2 separate regions of the Homo sapiens genome follow, and region 1 is linked to region 2. The links are contacts of gene promoters, found by promoter capture Hi-C in blood cells and fetal thymus (Javierre and others, 2016). All regions are on one chromosome and are shown on one strand. The core of a region is centred on a gene start or on the middle of the fragment in contact, and the rest is flanking DNA. Distances in the headings are between cores, read along the strand shown. Region 1 holds the start of LOC107987060 (a long non-coding RNA gene). Region 2 holds the start of TMEM215 (transmembrane protein 215).

Region 1 (5,951 bases), core at 1,513-4,012, 61 kb after region 2:
AGCAACCTTCATGAGCAGCAGGTGGAGTAATGAAGGTGATGGGAGAACCATCGTCTCCTCTTCAACATGGCTATTGGTCTCAGTCCTTCTATGTGTTACTAGACTGCACCCTGAAGGTAGAGATCCATCTATCACATTCAGCCTTCTGCCCTTTAGAGCTCCAGTGCTAACACAGTGCCTGGCACATACAGGTTTCTCAATTACTGTGCATTGAAAAAATGAATCTTAAATACTTTCTAAATCTATTTTCAGTTTGCCTGATGGCTAACAAAACATTTCATTGTTCCCTTCTCAATTTATACAATTAAAAATGAAATTACAGTCGGTAATGATTATTGATATTATAATTTTATCTAAATATTTGTTCTGTGTGTCTTTCAAAATTCACCGCCTTTCCTCACTGGCCATGAGGAAAGGAAAATACCTATGTCAGTAAAAGGTTGGAGATCATTGAGCTAAGTGCCGGAAAGTCTGACCACAAAAGTAAAAATATAAAACCAGTTTGTTTCCCTTATTATTGAAAAGGATGGCTCTCAAATCAAAGCAGTAGACATTTCCTCGGGGACAACAATGAGAAAAGCCATAGGCACAATTGAGACTACTAAGAAGATTTGCTTTCTAGGAGCTTACAACTTAAGAAAGTTCGAATGTTTACATAAATGGTTACTTTCCATTAATTCCAAGCTTTGTCTCCACTAAAAATTAATATTATTCCATGTCTAAAATACCCACCCATACATCAATAGTCACAAGCATTTCCCATCGTCTCCATGTTGTAGACATCATAATGGTCTATAATTTTTCCCAAAGGTGGTATAGAGCTTGTCCAGGAAGTCCACTACCTGATACAGTGTGCTGATGTAGAAAGTCGAGGGAAGCCTACTATGTCACTGGAATGGAGCAGGGAGGTAGAAAAAAAGTAAAATCAGGCAAAATAATTGGCAAGACCTAATTAAGCAATGGTACTTCCTTGTTTGGCACAATTTTTTAAAGCTCTCAGAAATCTGAGCCAGGGAGACCAGAAAGTCATGAGTCAGTCAATGGGTTTAGAAAATATCCTTAGTTGTTTGTAACTTGTTTGGTTGGGATTTTGTTTGGGTTTGCTTTTGGTGTTTGGGTGTTGGTTTTGTTTGGGTTTTGCTTAGCTTCATTTTAGACAGTGCTGGCGTATTCCAAGCTAGGGAAGCTGGGTGCATGAGAGCTCTATCCGCTAACATCTGGACTCCCTCTGTTTCTGTTGATCAAGTGAGTGGGTTTATATAACAAGAGATTTACATGGATTGAGACAGCTGTGCAAACTCATTTAAAGAAGTCCCAGGTCGAGGTTAATTTGCTTCCCAGTTATCCTGATTCCTACCTACATTCTAGTTTTGTTTGTTTGTTTTTGTTTGTTTTGTTTTTTTGAGACAGTATCTCTCTCTGTCATCCCGGCTACAGTGCAGTGGCTCAACTGTAGCTCACCGTGACCTTGAACTCCTGGGCTCAAGTGATCTTCCCACCTCAGCCTCTTGAGTAGATAGGACTACAGGCACTTGCCACCCTTGGCCATCTAATGTTTTGTATTTTTTGTAGAGACAGGTTCTCTCTGTTTCTCTGGCTGGTATTAAACTCCTAGTTTCAAGTGATCCTCCCACCACAGCCTTCTAGATCTTTTATTTTTTGGTTGTTAGTGATGCTTTCATATCTTCAGATAGATTTCTCTGAGGTTATACTAGCCTCTGCTGGAGAGAGGTCTTTTGTCTTTTTCCTCCCAGGAAGGAGTCTCTATCAGTGACATGGCATGGCTTTAAACTCTAAAGAGCCGGTCTTTAAGCTCTATGCCTCAGTTTATCCATCTGTAAAACATGGACGCTCTCTTGACCCCCAGTTAGAATCTGACTGCTTTGAGTAACTGCTGTAAACTGCAAATCATTTGCAAGGCTTCCACCTCACAGCTTACAACTTCAATTTATGGGTTTTTCTCAGAAATTTCTAAACTTTCCCCCAGGCAAGGCAACCCTGGTTCTGCCTCATCACAGATGGGGTCATTGTATGTTTTGTTATGGCAGGGAAGAACTATATGGCTTATTTACTTCAGATTAAAAAAAAAATTCCCTGAAATGAAGTATAAGCATTCTAAAGCAATTTCCTGCTGTTTTTGCTAAGCTGCATGCCTTTTAGCTCTAAGAAATTGATTTAAGTTAAAAAAAAAATAAGGTGGTGGGGTGGAGGGACTTAACCAAATCACACCAACGTATTTTATTAACAACATGCCTAAGTGGTAAGCTTGCTGCCACTTGATTCAAATGCCTGCAGTTTCTTCTTTTGCAGATATTATTTACTCTCCACCTGCTGCCAGTCACGCACAAATTGTATAACACTGTAGACTGCTCCAACTCTCTGCCTTTTAAGCTGAAATCCCAATGCCAGTCATGTTAATTTACCTGAAAAGATGGACACACTCAGGTATCTCTGAGCCAGGCAGGTTGGCCTTGTCTTAGGTCATCAACAACTTGTTTCAGTAGCGTGCCTATTTTTAGGTATGAATCCGAACAGTTAATTACCCTTAAGGAAAAGGACACACGGGGGCCCACTGTCATGCCTGCAGCATCATTTTTTACATTGGCACTCTCGATTGTTCTGTCCTCCATACACAGTAAGTAGGGTATGGTTTGCATACTGTTTGCTGGGCCACAGTGGATTTGTACCAAGTCAAGTGTATTCCCTAACCCAGTCTTCCCCGGGGCCACTGTTGAGATGGGGTCAGGGGTGCTGCTAGGAGTGGAGAGAGAGGAGAGTCAATTGGAGGAATGGAAGCTCTGCCTGCAACCTCATTAGGATCAACCTTTACTCATCTAGCACTTTGGTCATTGAGATTGACGCCTCCCCTAACTTAAAATACTTATTATGGGAACCAGGACCTCAGGGTGCGTTAAGCAGGCCCAGCTTCCACCCTGCAGTGATTTGCAATTTCCTTGTTGGGAGCGGTGGCAGCATTGTTAGTTCAGAGAGCTGGGCTTTGCCCTTTTGGGAGGTTGTGGGGCTTTTTGCTCCCAAGAGGTGGCTATTACCTTCCTCATGGGCAGTTTTTTTCTAAACAGGAAGCGGTGGATGAACAATTTTACCATGTCCTCCTCTAGTCTTGGGGATTAAAAATCTTAAGTTATTTGAATCGTTAGGCTGTCGGAAGAAAAAAATCAACTAAGATCGCCATTCTGTCTACAGGGTGAAAACAAACAGAGTGATTTACTGGGCACATTTAGCACTCATTTCCCTTGCAGGAAGCTTGGGATCCCCTGGAGGGATAAAGGATGAATATTTATTGGAGCCTAATAATGGTGGAAAAACCTGATTTTGTATTTTTTTTTCTGTGAAAGAAATAGGGTGATTTTATATATTTCCCTTAGGAATTTCTGTCTCAATAGCGTTTTTGCTATACGTATTCATAATCTACCCTGGTAATATTGTCTGCTAAATACTTATAAATGCAGCATGATCTGGCTATATTGCTTCATCATTAATTGAGGAATATAAAATGCAGTCAGGCCTCCAATCAGTGTTTACAGAGCACCTACCATGTCCCAAGCACTGGACTAGGCACTGAGGGATGTAAAAATGAACAAAATTTAGTTATGCCACACAAGAATTATATAATCCTGCTAGATAAACAGAAATGTGTACAGTTAATCACATACGTATACTACTTGAATATAAAAGTCAGGCTTGCCATGGCCAGGAGAAGGTTTAAAGGGTTACACAGGAAGTATTGACATGTTTCTACCCAAAGGGGGGATATCTTTTATTTCATATAGATTTAGAAAGTTATTCATCTCACCAAAAGGAAGAGATTAACTCATCCAGTCTACAGAATAGGACTGGCAAAGACCCCAAAGGCTTATGAAAATGAATAACTTGGATTAGCTTGGTTCTTCATTTTTGAGCTGCCTTTGAGAATATGGATGAAAACACGGGTCCTCTCCTGGAAAAATGCACATATATACCCAGTCTTGCATGTAATTTCAGGGATACATGGGCCACTTGAAACTTCAACATGGACTGTCTAGAGCACCACCAAATTAGATAAGCAGACAAAAGAGCCAACAATGACATTCTAGTAAACATCAATATTTAGAAGTAAAAAGGCATTTAGAGGAAGTCAAACAGAGAAGAGCCATTGAAAGAAACTATGGCATTGTCAGAATTGAGTTGCACTGTGGGGGCTATTCATCCAGGGCAGCTCTCTGGGTCATCAGGCATCACCAGTTGGTAAAATATCCATGTAAATGCAATAAAATAGATGCATTAGTCTGTTCTCAGGCTGATAATAAAGACATACCTGAGACTGGGTAATTTATAAAGGAAAGAGGATTAATAGACTCACAGTTCCACATGGCTGGGGAGGCCTCACAATTATGACAGAAGGCAAGAAGAAGCAAGTCATGTCTTACATGGAAGGCAGCAGGCAAAGAGAGAAATGAGAGCCAAATGAAAGGGGTTTCCCCTTATAAAACCATCAGATTTCATGAGACTTCTTCACTACCACAGGAACAGTATGGGGGAAACCTCCCCCATGATTCAATTATATTCTGCTGAGTCCCTCCCATAATATGTGGCAGTTATGGGAGCTACAATTCAAGATGAGATTTGTGTGGGGACACAGCCAAACCATATCAATAGAGAAAAATGTATTTACCAAAAACTCCTCTAGAGGGGCTTACCATATATGACTGAATGGAATACTTGGATAGCCCACTTGGGAAAGCAATGACACCTCTAAAGGATATACTCTCTAATAACATAGTCACCAAACTGCCTTCCTAGGAAGACAGGTCAGATTAACTACTTGGCTTTTGTTTTCCTGAGTAGACTCTGTAGGGTTGGGGCCAAAGCTGAACTGCTTGGGGTAGGGCTGGGGTAGTGAAAGCTGGGAGGCTTTTTTGCCTTCAATCCTATCTAGTCAGTACACACTTCCCTCTCTCCATCATCATTACCACCATCATCACAGTCATTATCAACATCATCACTAACACTTGTTCTACTCCAGGCGCTATCTAAATACTACACAGACTAACAATGAATGCTCACAACTCTCCTATGATGTAGACATTATGATGTCCATTTTATAGGTGAGCAAGATGGAAGAGATGAAATTTAAACACAGGGAGTCTAAATCTAGAGCCCTTTTTCTTAGCCACAACACAATACTGATAACATTCAAATAAAACTGTTTGTTTTGTTTTGTTTTTTGAGACGGAGTCTCACACTGTCACTGGGCCTGGAATGCAATGGCGTGATCTTGGCTCACTGCAACCTCTGCCTCCCAGGTTCCCGTGATTCTCGTGCCTCAGGCTCCCAAGTAACTGGGATCGCAGGTGCACACCACCACACCTGGCTAACTTTTTGTATTTTTAGTAGAGATGCGGTTTCACTATATTGGCCAGATTGGTCTCGAACTCCTGACCTCGTGATCCACCTGCCTTGGCCTCCCAAAGTGCTGAGATTACAGGCATGAGCCACCGTGTCCAGGCAATAAAACAATTTTAAAGGACAGAAAACTTTGAGACTTCCCAGGTTGCCCATATGCCTTGGTTTGAGCCTATATGTTTTAGACCTTCCTTGAGTCAGAGAAGATGGAGGAGAAATAAAAGAGCATTGTGTCCTAGAAGCCAAAGGACAAAAAGAATAGAGTGATAACTTTCTCAAGTTTTTAGAGACGTGACCTAGGGTGAGGACTGAAAAGTAACTGTTGGTGTAAGTCATGGCCTTGGCGAGGACAGTTCCTATAGAGTGATGCGGGTGCAGATTGCAAAGGGTTGAGGAGCAAATGAGAAGTGGAGAGGAATCATTGAGTAGATACTACTTTTTCAAATTCTTTAGACAAGAGGACAGAAAACAAATCTACTTTGGGATGAGGAACATCAAATTAAACCCACCTACCAGCTGGCCATGGTGGCTCACACCTATAATTCCTA
Region 2 (6,717 bases), core at 3,360-5,859:
AAAAGAGCATTCCTAATACAGAGAGAAGGTAGGCAGGATCCATGTTTCATGGGTTTTCAGGCTCCAGACCTAAAAATTCAAACCCAGAAGAGACAGAAAGGCTAGAAGAGGGCAGACAGACATTGGGAAAAGTCTAGAGAAGAAACAGGCTAAAACAGCCCCAGGCTTTATTTGGCCATCACATTTACTGTACCTCCAGGTCTGTCTGCTCCTTCCATCACACTAGGAAAGGACTGAGCCCACACCAGGGAGGAAGACATTGATGTTAGATGAGTCTTCAGCAGAAAGTGAAACATCTTTCAGTCTCAGAGAAAACAACTACAGAATTTGTATGGTACTAGACAAAAATTTCCATCTTTAGCCTTCAAAGTTTCAGAAGTTCCAAAAACTCTACTATCCTTTGAGATGGAGTCTCCTTCTATCACCCAGGCTGGAGTGCAATGGCTCAATCTTGGCTCGCTGCAACTTCCATCTCCAGGCTCAAGCAATTCTCCAGCCTCAACCTCCCAAGTAGCTGAGACTACAGGCACATGCCACCACACCTGCTAATTTTTGTATTTTTTGTAGAGATGGGGTTTCACCATGTTGGCCAGGCTGGTCTTGAACTCCTGACCTCAGGTGATTTGCCCACCTCGGCCTCCCAAGGTGCTGGAATTATGGGCGTGAGCCACCAGGCCTGGTCTCTATTATCCCTTTAGGGTTGGATAGCTGAGCTGGAAGGAAGAAGTGAAGCAAAAGGAGGAGGAACCTGAGAGATGGGGGTGATGGCAAAGTCTAGGGAATACACTTTACCAGCCAGCATGTGGTTTGTCCTGCTCTTTTGTCCCTCTGCTACAAGATCGGCCGTGTCCTAAATGGAAGCTGCTCTGTCAATCTGAACATCAGAGTGAAGATGACATGGAGAGAGGCAGCAGCTGGCTCATTACAGACATGTATAATATTATGAGCATGTAGCTTTTGTAGAACTAGAGGTCTTTTGTTGTCACCACATAATCTGTCCAGTCCTGACATACACACAACTTGCTCTGAGGGTGTGAGTTCTATAAAGGCAGACCATGTCATATTTGATTTGTACCCCCGGCACCCAGCACAATGCTAAGCACACAATAAATACTCAAGTAATATTGGATGAATGAAGCCTTTCTAGACTTCATCTGTACAATAAAGAAGTTGGAGTAGATGTACTACAGGGTATCTTCAAAGGCTAGCATGCCATGATTTCTATAATTTCAGAAATAAAAGGTTCTGTTTCCTTCTGAAACACCCACATGCCAAAGTCTCATTTCAGCCTGAATTCCTTGCTCTTCTAAGAAAAAGCCTTTGTACATGGCTGTATATGCTTACAGGATTGCAAGAACTGCTTAAGGTTTTAAAATCCAGACTATACAGGCAAGAAATTAAATACTAAGAACACCTTATCTGTCTCTGAGTATTGTGACCCTGAGTGATGTCTCCAATCCCTACCCACTGTTGCTGCTGACTTGGGCAAGTATACCTGCTGTTCAAAGACCATCTGAAATTACCTCTAAGAAGGAATTGCTTTGAAAATGAAGCTTATAATTAAACAGCAATTGAAGTTTCCTGTGGTTTTATGCCCGGGTCTTATCTAATGCCTAAGTAGATAAACTGCATGGCTTAAAAATCAGAAAAGAACTGGATGTTTGTACAAGTGACAGGAGGTCTCCACTCAGCAATCTTGCTTCTTTAGGACCCAACTTTATTTCCAGCACTATTGTCAAAACACGTCCACAACACTGACATCAGCTCAGCCCTGCAGAAGTAACTACAAGAGAACCAAGGAACATTAGAGCTAAAATGAATCTTACCTAGCACCTCATTCAAAGTCTTTGTTTCATTAAGAAGTTGAAACACAGGAAGGTAAAGTTATTTTCCTAGGGTCACCACCATAAGAGGGGATAATCAAAGGACTTAGGAGGTAAAACTATAATGACTTGGGTGACTTACTGGACGTAGGCTGTTAGGGAGAGAAAGGAGTAGAGAACAATTGCAAATATTCTCAGTTGGCAAATGGAAGGAATGATGAGGTTGGGTTTGGAACATAATCCCAAAGGACACAATCCCAAACCCCACAATCCCTAATGTTGAAATCCCCATAGATCAAAATCACTAAAGTCTAAATCCCTGAAGTCTAAAGTCCCTAGCAAGTGTGAGGTGTCTGCATACCATCCAGATTAGAGATATCAAGCAGACAGTTGGATATTATAGATTTGGGGCTGAGGGAAAATGACAAAGCTAAAGAGAGAGTTTTGGGAGTCATCAGCCTATTCAGGCTGTTCGAGGCTATTACAGAATGAGAAGAAAGAGAAGAGAAATCAAGAAAGGGGAGAAGCAAGAATAGAACCCACAGAACATCAGTATCTAAGGGGTTTGTTAAAATAAAAAATAAATAAAATAGGAGTTTATAAAGTAGCCTACAAATAAGTGACCAGGGAGATAGGAAGAAAACTAGGATAGAATGGTGTCAGTAAAAGAAACGGTTTTAAGAAGGGAAAACTTTTCAATAATTGTAACACACGTAGCGAGCTGCTTCCCCAGTATTTAAAAGGAGCAGTATGCTGCTCCTTTTAAACAAAACCCTTTTTTCAGACCATCAGTGGATCTGGTAAATAAATAAACAACAATTTCCCAGGTACCTTTGTATCCCAAAGCTCATCCATCTCTGGTCAATTACAGGCAGATGCCTATCTACTTGGGGGGGCTGCCAGGAAAATTATTATTGTCCTCATACAAGTGGCCAAAGAACTGGCACCTCACTTTTACCCTTTGCATTTTCTCCTTTCTTCCCTCCTAAATGATTCTATGCCTAAAGGTGCAGCAGCTGTCTAATGGTCATGAGTACAAAAGATACAAAATAGATGATGGAGAGGAAAATGAGAAGGATCTGCTTCCTGATCCACCCCTTTGAAAGTGAGAAAGTTGGGAGTTGACCTTGGCTCCTCCCTTCATCTCACTTCACTGTGCTCCAAGACACTTCACTCAACCCTTAAATACCCTCAGATCTGCTTCCTTCCAACTCCTCTACCAGCCCGACATTGTTAAGGCCACATCATGTCTTGCCCGGCTTACTGAACTTCTCAGCTTACTGAACAAGACTCCCGGCTTCCAGACTTACCAGCTCCAACCTATGCTCTCACCTGCCGCCCCTTTCAGTCAAACTGGAATGTTTTTGTATTGATCTTTGCTTAAAATACATCAAGCGTTCTTCATTGCCTAGTGGATAAAAAGTCCTTAGTCTCACAGCCTTTATGATTTGTTTGGCTCCTGTCATACATGATGAAGACACTAATTATGATGACAAATATATATACATATACATGTGTACGTGTGTGCATGTGTGTGTAATTTTTGTACACAGACTATGTACCAAGCATTGTGCTAGGAACTTTACGTTTATTTAATCCTCACAATGTTTCCTCATATATTTGGTATTAATCTCATTTTACAGATAGGACGACTGATTCTCAGAGAGGTTAAGTCACTTGCCCAGGAATATACAGCTAGTTTAACTGGGGAAGGCCTGGATGTGAAAATTCTTTCCAGTAAATCAGTGTCTTGACATGAAAGCATGTACCGCTCATCAACCTGTTCTCCACCGCCCTCCTCTATCCTAAATGGGCAGCCCTGTTGAAGAATCACAGCCAAAGCCAGTCTTGCCCCCCGGGGCCAGAGGAATCCATCTGCCCCTGCCTACCAGAGCGGGAGGAACGCAGGCTCTCAATGCCTGCTTCAGCAAGGGAGGAGAGAATCGCCCAGAGCTGAGCGGCGTCGTAGGGTGGTGGTCCTGACCGGTCAAGGCCCCTTCTCCTCGTGAACTGGGGGCCAGGGAGCCCTTCTCCCTGTCCCCCCGGCACCACAGCGCTGTAGAAGTGAAATCCCGGCTCCAAGGTCACCCTCTCCCGAGCCTGGAGCTGGAAAGCCACGGGGACTCCGGGGACTCCCCCAAGGCCCGGACTAGCCTGGCACCCACCCCTCACCACTAACCCACTCCGCCTGGGCGCTGGTTCTGTGCGCTCCCGCGGCGCAGTCGCTCCGCTGCAAGAGCGCTTTCGCGCGCCGCCACCGCCCAGAGCCGGGACCAAAGCAGTCCTCGGGCACCGGCTCCCCGAGGGACACACACCCCCCCGCGCCCCGAGTCGAGGGGTTGAGAGAAGGGCGGTCGGGGAGCCCCTGGGCCTGCCGTCAGTCACCCGGATTTGTAACTGGAGAAGGGTGCGGGTCCCGGAGGGACATCTCCAGCTGGCACCTAACTCCTCGGATCCCGGACTGGGAGCCCGAGCTCGGATATTGCAACGGCTGCCCCGTGGGCAAACCGACCCTGGTTTCCGACTCCGGCCACTGGCAGCCTCGCGCCCCAGACCCTTCCCGGGCACGGAAGCGGGTCAGGTCGCCCTGCTCAGCCTCCGGAACGGCGGCGGCACAAACCCCGGCCGCTCCCAGCAGCCCCGACGAGACCCCGGGCAGCGCCTGCCGCCGGGTGGCCTCCCTCTGGGGCTGACCCCCTCGCGCCCCCGCGCGTCTGTCTGCGTTTCTGAGCCTGCTCTGACAGTGATGTAACAAGGCCAGGCTCGCGCCGCGTCCCCTCTTTCCCAGACTCAGTGCTCCCTCCTCCTCCCGCGCCCCGCGCTCTGCGCGCTGAGCTGGCGCCGGGCTCCGCTTGCACAGCACCGGGACCGACGGGCACTGCTGGGAGAGCCGCTCTCCCAGGTTCCACCTCCCCGATGCAGAGTCCGTGGGGGAAACCAGGCTTTCCTCCCAGAACCAAGGGAGCGAGCCGAGGGGGCAGCTGCTGTGGGGGCTTCTGAGGAGACAGCCTGGCTTCTTTCCCTACTTCCTGGAGAGGGCAGGAAACCTCAGGTACCTCGTTGACCCCAGCCGGAGCGTGTTGATATGAGAGAGAGACGGAGGTTGCAATAGTGAGAGGAAGAGAGGGAGGGCACAAGAAAGGGAGGGAGGGAGAGGGGACGGAGAGAAAGAGTAGAAATAGAAACAGGGAGAGATTGCAAGAGAAACGCAGAGAGAGAGATAGAGAGATTGCAAGAGAGATACAGAGACAGAGATCAAGACTGAAAGTCAAGAAGCAAGTCGGAGACAAAGGGCAAGAGAAAGACAAGAGTTGATGGGTGGGAGCTTGACTTGGATTTTTTTTTAACGCACTGTGGTTTCATCTCTGACAGAATAGAGGAACGCTGCTCCCTGGTCAGCAAGCAGCCCCCAACCTGGATGGAGTGAAACATGCGGCCTGATGACATTAACCCGAGGACTGGGCTGGTGGTGGCCCTGGTCAGTGTCTTCCTCGTCTTTGGTTTCATGTTCACCGTCTCTGGGATGAAAGGGGAGACTTTGGGAAACATCCCCCTCCTGGCCATCGGGCCAGCCATCTGCCTACCAGGCATCGCAGCCATTGCCCTGGCCAGGAAAACCGAGGGATGCACCAAGTGGCCAGAGAACGAGCTGCTGTGGGTCCGCAAATTGCCCTGCTTCCGGAAACCCAAAGACAAGGAGGTGGTAGAGCTGCTGAGGACCCCTTCAGACCTAGAATCCGGCAAGGGGAGCTCAGATGAGCTGGCTAAGAAGGCGGGCCTCAGGGGGAAGCCTCCCCCACAAAGCCAGGGTGAGGTGTCCGTGGCCAGCTCCATCAACAGCCCCACACCCACGGAGGAAGGAGAATGCCAGAGCCTCGTCCAGAATGGGCATCAGGAGGAGACGTCCAGATACCTGGACGGCTACTGCCCCTCGGGCAGTTCCCTCACCTACAGTGCCTTGGACGTCAAGTGCTCAGCAAGGGACAGATCTGAGTGCCCTGAGCCTGAGGATAGCATCTTCTTTGTGCCCCAGGACAGTATCATCGTTTGCTCCTACAAGCAGAACAGCCCGTATGACAGATACTGTTGTTATATCAATCAGATACAAGGCAGGTGGGACCACGAGACCATCGTCTAATCTCTGCCTACAAAGGTGGCTGGATTGATAGAATATGACTAAGCCCAGCTCCCCGTGGAAGCAAATTGCTCTGCTTGGAGAGCCTTCACACTGTTAGAAATTGACCTGGTATGTGATGGGTGTGATAACCTCTGGTACCCGAGAGTCATGTAAATAGGCATGTTGGGGACACATTTTAGGGAAGGGCGATGAGGGTTAAGGACACTGGAAGAGGCAGTGGGTAGGAAAGGAAGCTACTCCAGTTGCTTCTTAACAATTTACACAATGTTAAATGTTTTGTAAAATAACCCAAAAAGTGCTATCCAGAACCAGCTGAGAGCAAGATAAATCTAGAGTGGGCTGCAGATGTGAGGCATCAAATGATGCATGAGCTGACCACAGGGAAACTGAGCTGCTTTATGTTTGAATAAGTTGAAAATAAAATTAATGATCCGTTATATAAAGTAATTTTTGCCTGGTTAAAAGCTTATCACACTTGGTATTTGCTGAAAGAAAAAAAAATCAAGATACAAGAGTTAAACCCTCCTTAGATGGGATGGTTTTTGGGAAAAGGGTAGTTAAAGAGAGTTGGATTATGTAACTGAGTCTTGTGGCATTATTGTCTGACAAGATCATGGTCTCTAATAAAGTAAAATAAGTGTGAGCAGCTATGTGAAAAGTTAACATTTTTAGATGGCTATGTTACTTCTTAAACTCTTCGTTTAAATCCATTTATTGCATCTTTATCTGAAATGGGTTTTTTCTAAACATTTACTA

The links. Contacts are between HindIII fragments. The CHiCAGO score rates a contact against its expected background, and 5 or more counts as called.
Region 1: a contact is called between a fragment that was not itself captured here and the fragment with the promoter of TMEM215 in region 2, in 1 of 17 cell types (M2 macrophages). The highest score is 5.3, in M2 macrophages.

What each region holds. Positions count from the first base shown.
Region 1 is chr9:32,841,484-32,847,434 of GRCh38, forward strand. It overlaps LOC107987060 (a long non-coding RNA gene), which reads right to left and starts at 5,249. Exons shown (of 2, transcript XR_007061452.1): 1 at 1-5,249. The HindIII fragment of the contact is 999 bases long and covers 2,264-3,262 here.
Region 2 is chr9:32,778,931-32,785,647 of GRCh38, forward strand. It overlaps TMEM215 (transmembrane protein 215), which reads left to right and starts at 4,610. Exons shown (of 2, transcript NM_212558.3): 1 at 4,610-4,875; 2 at 5,196-6,717. The coding sequence starts at 5,254. The coding sequence ends at 5,961. LOC105376017 (a long non-coding RNA gene) reads right to left here and starts at 3,976. Exons shown (of 7, transcript XR_929559.2): 1 at 3,713-3,976. The HindIII fragment of the contact is 4,873 bases long and covers 1,552-6,424 here.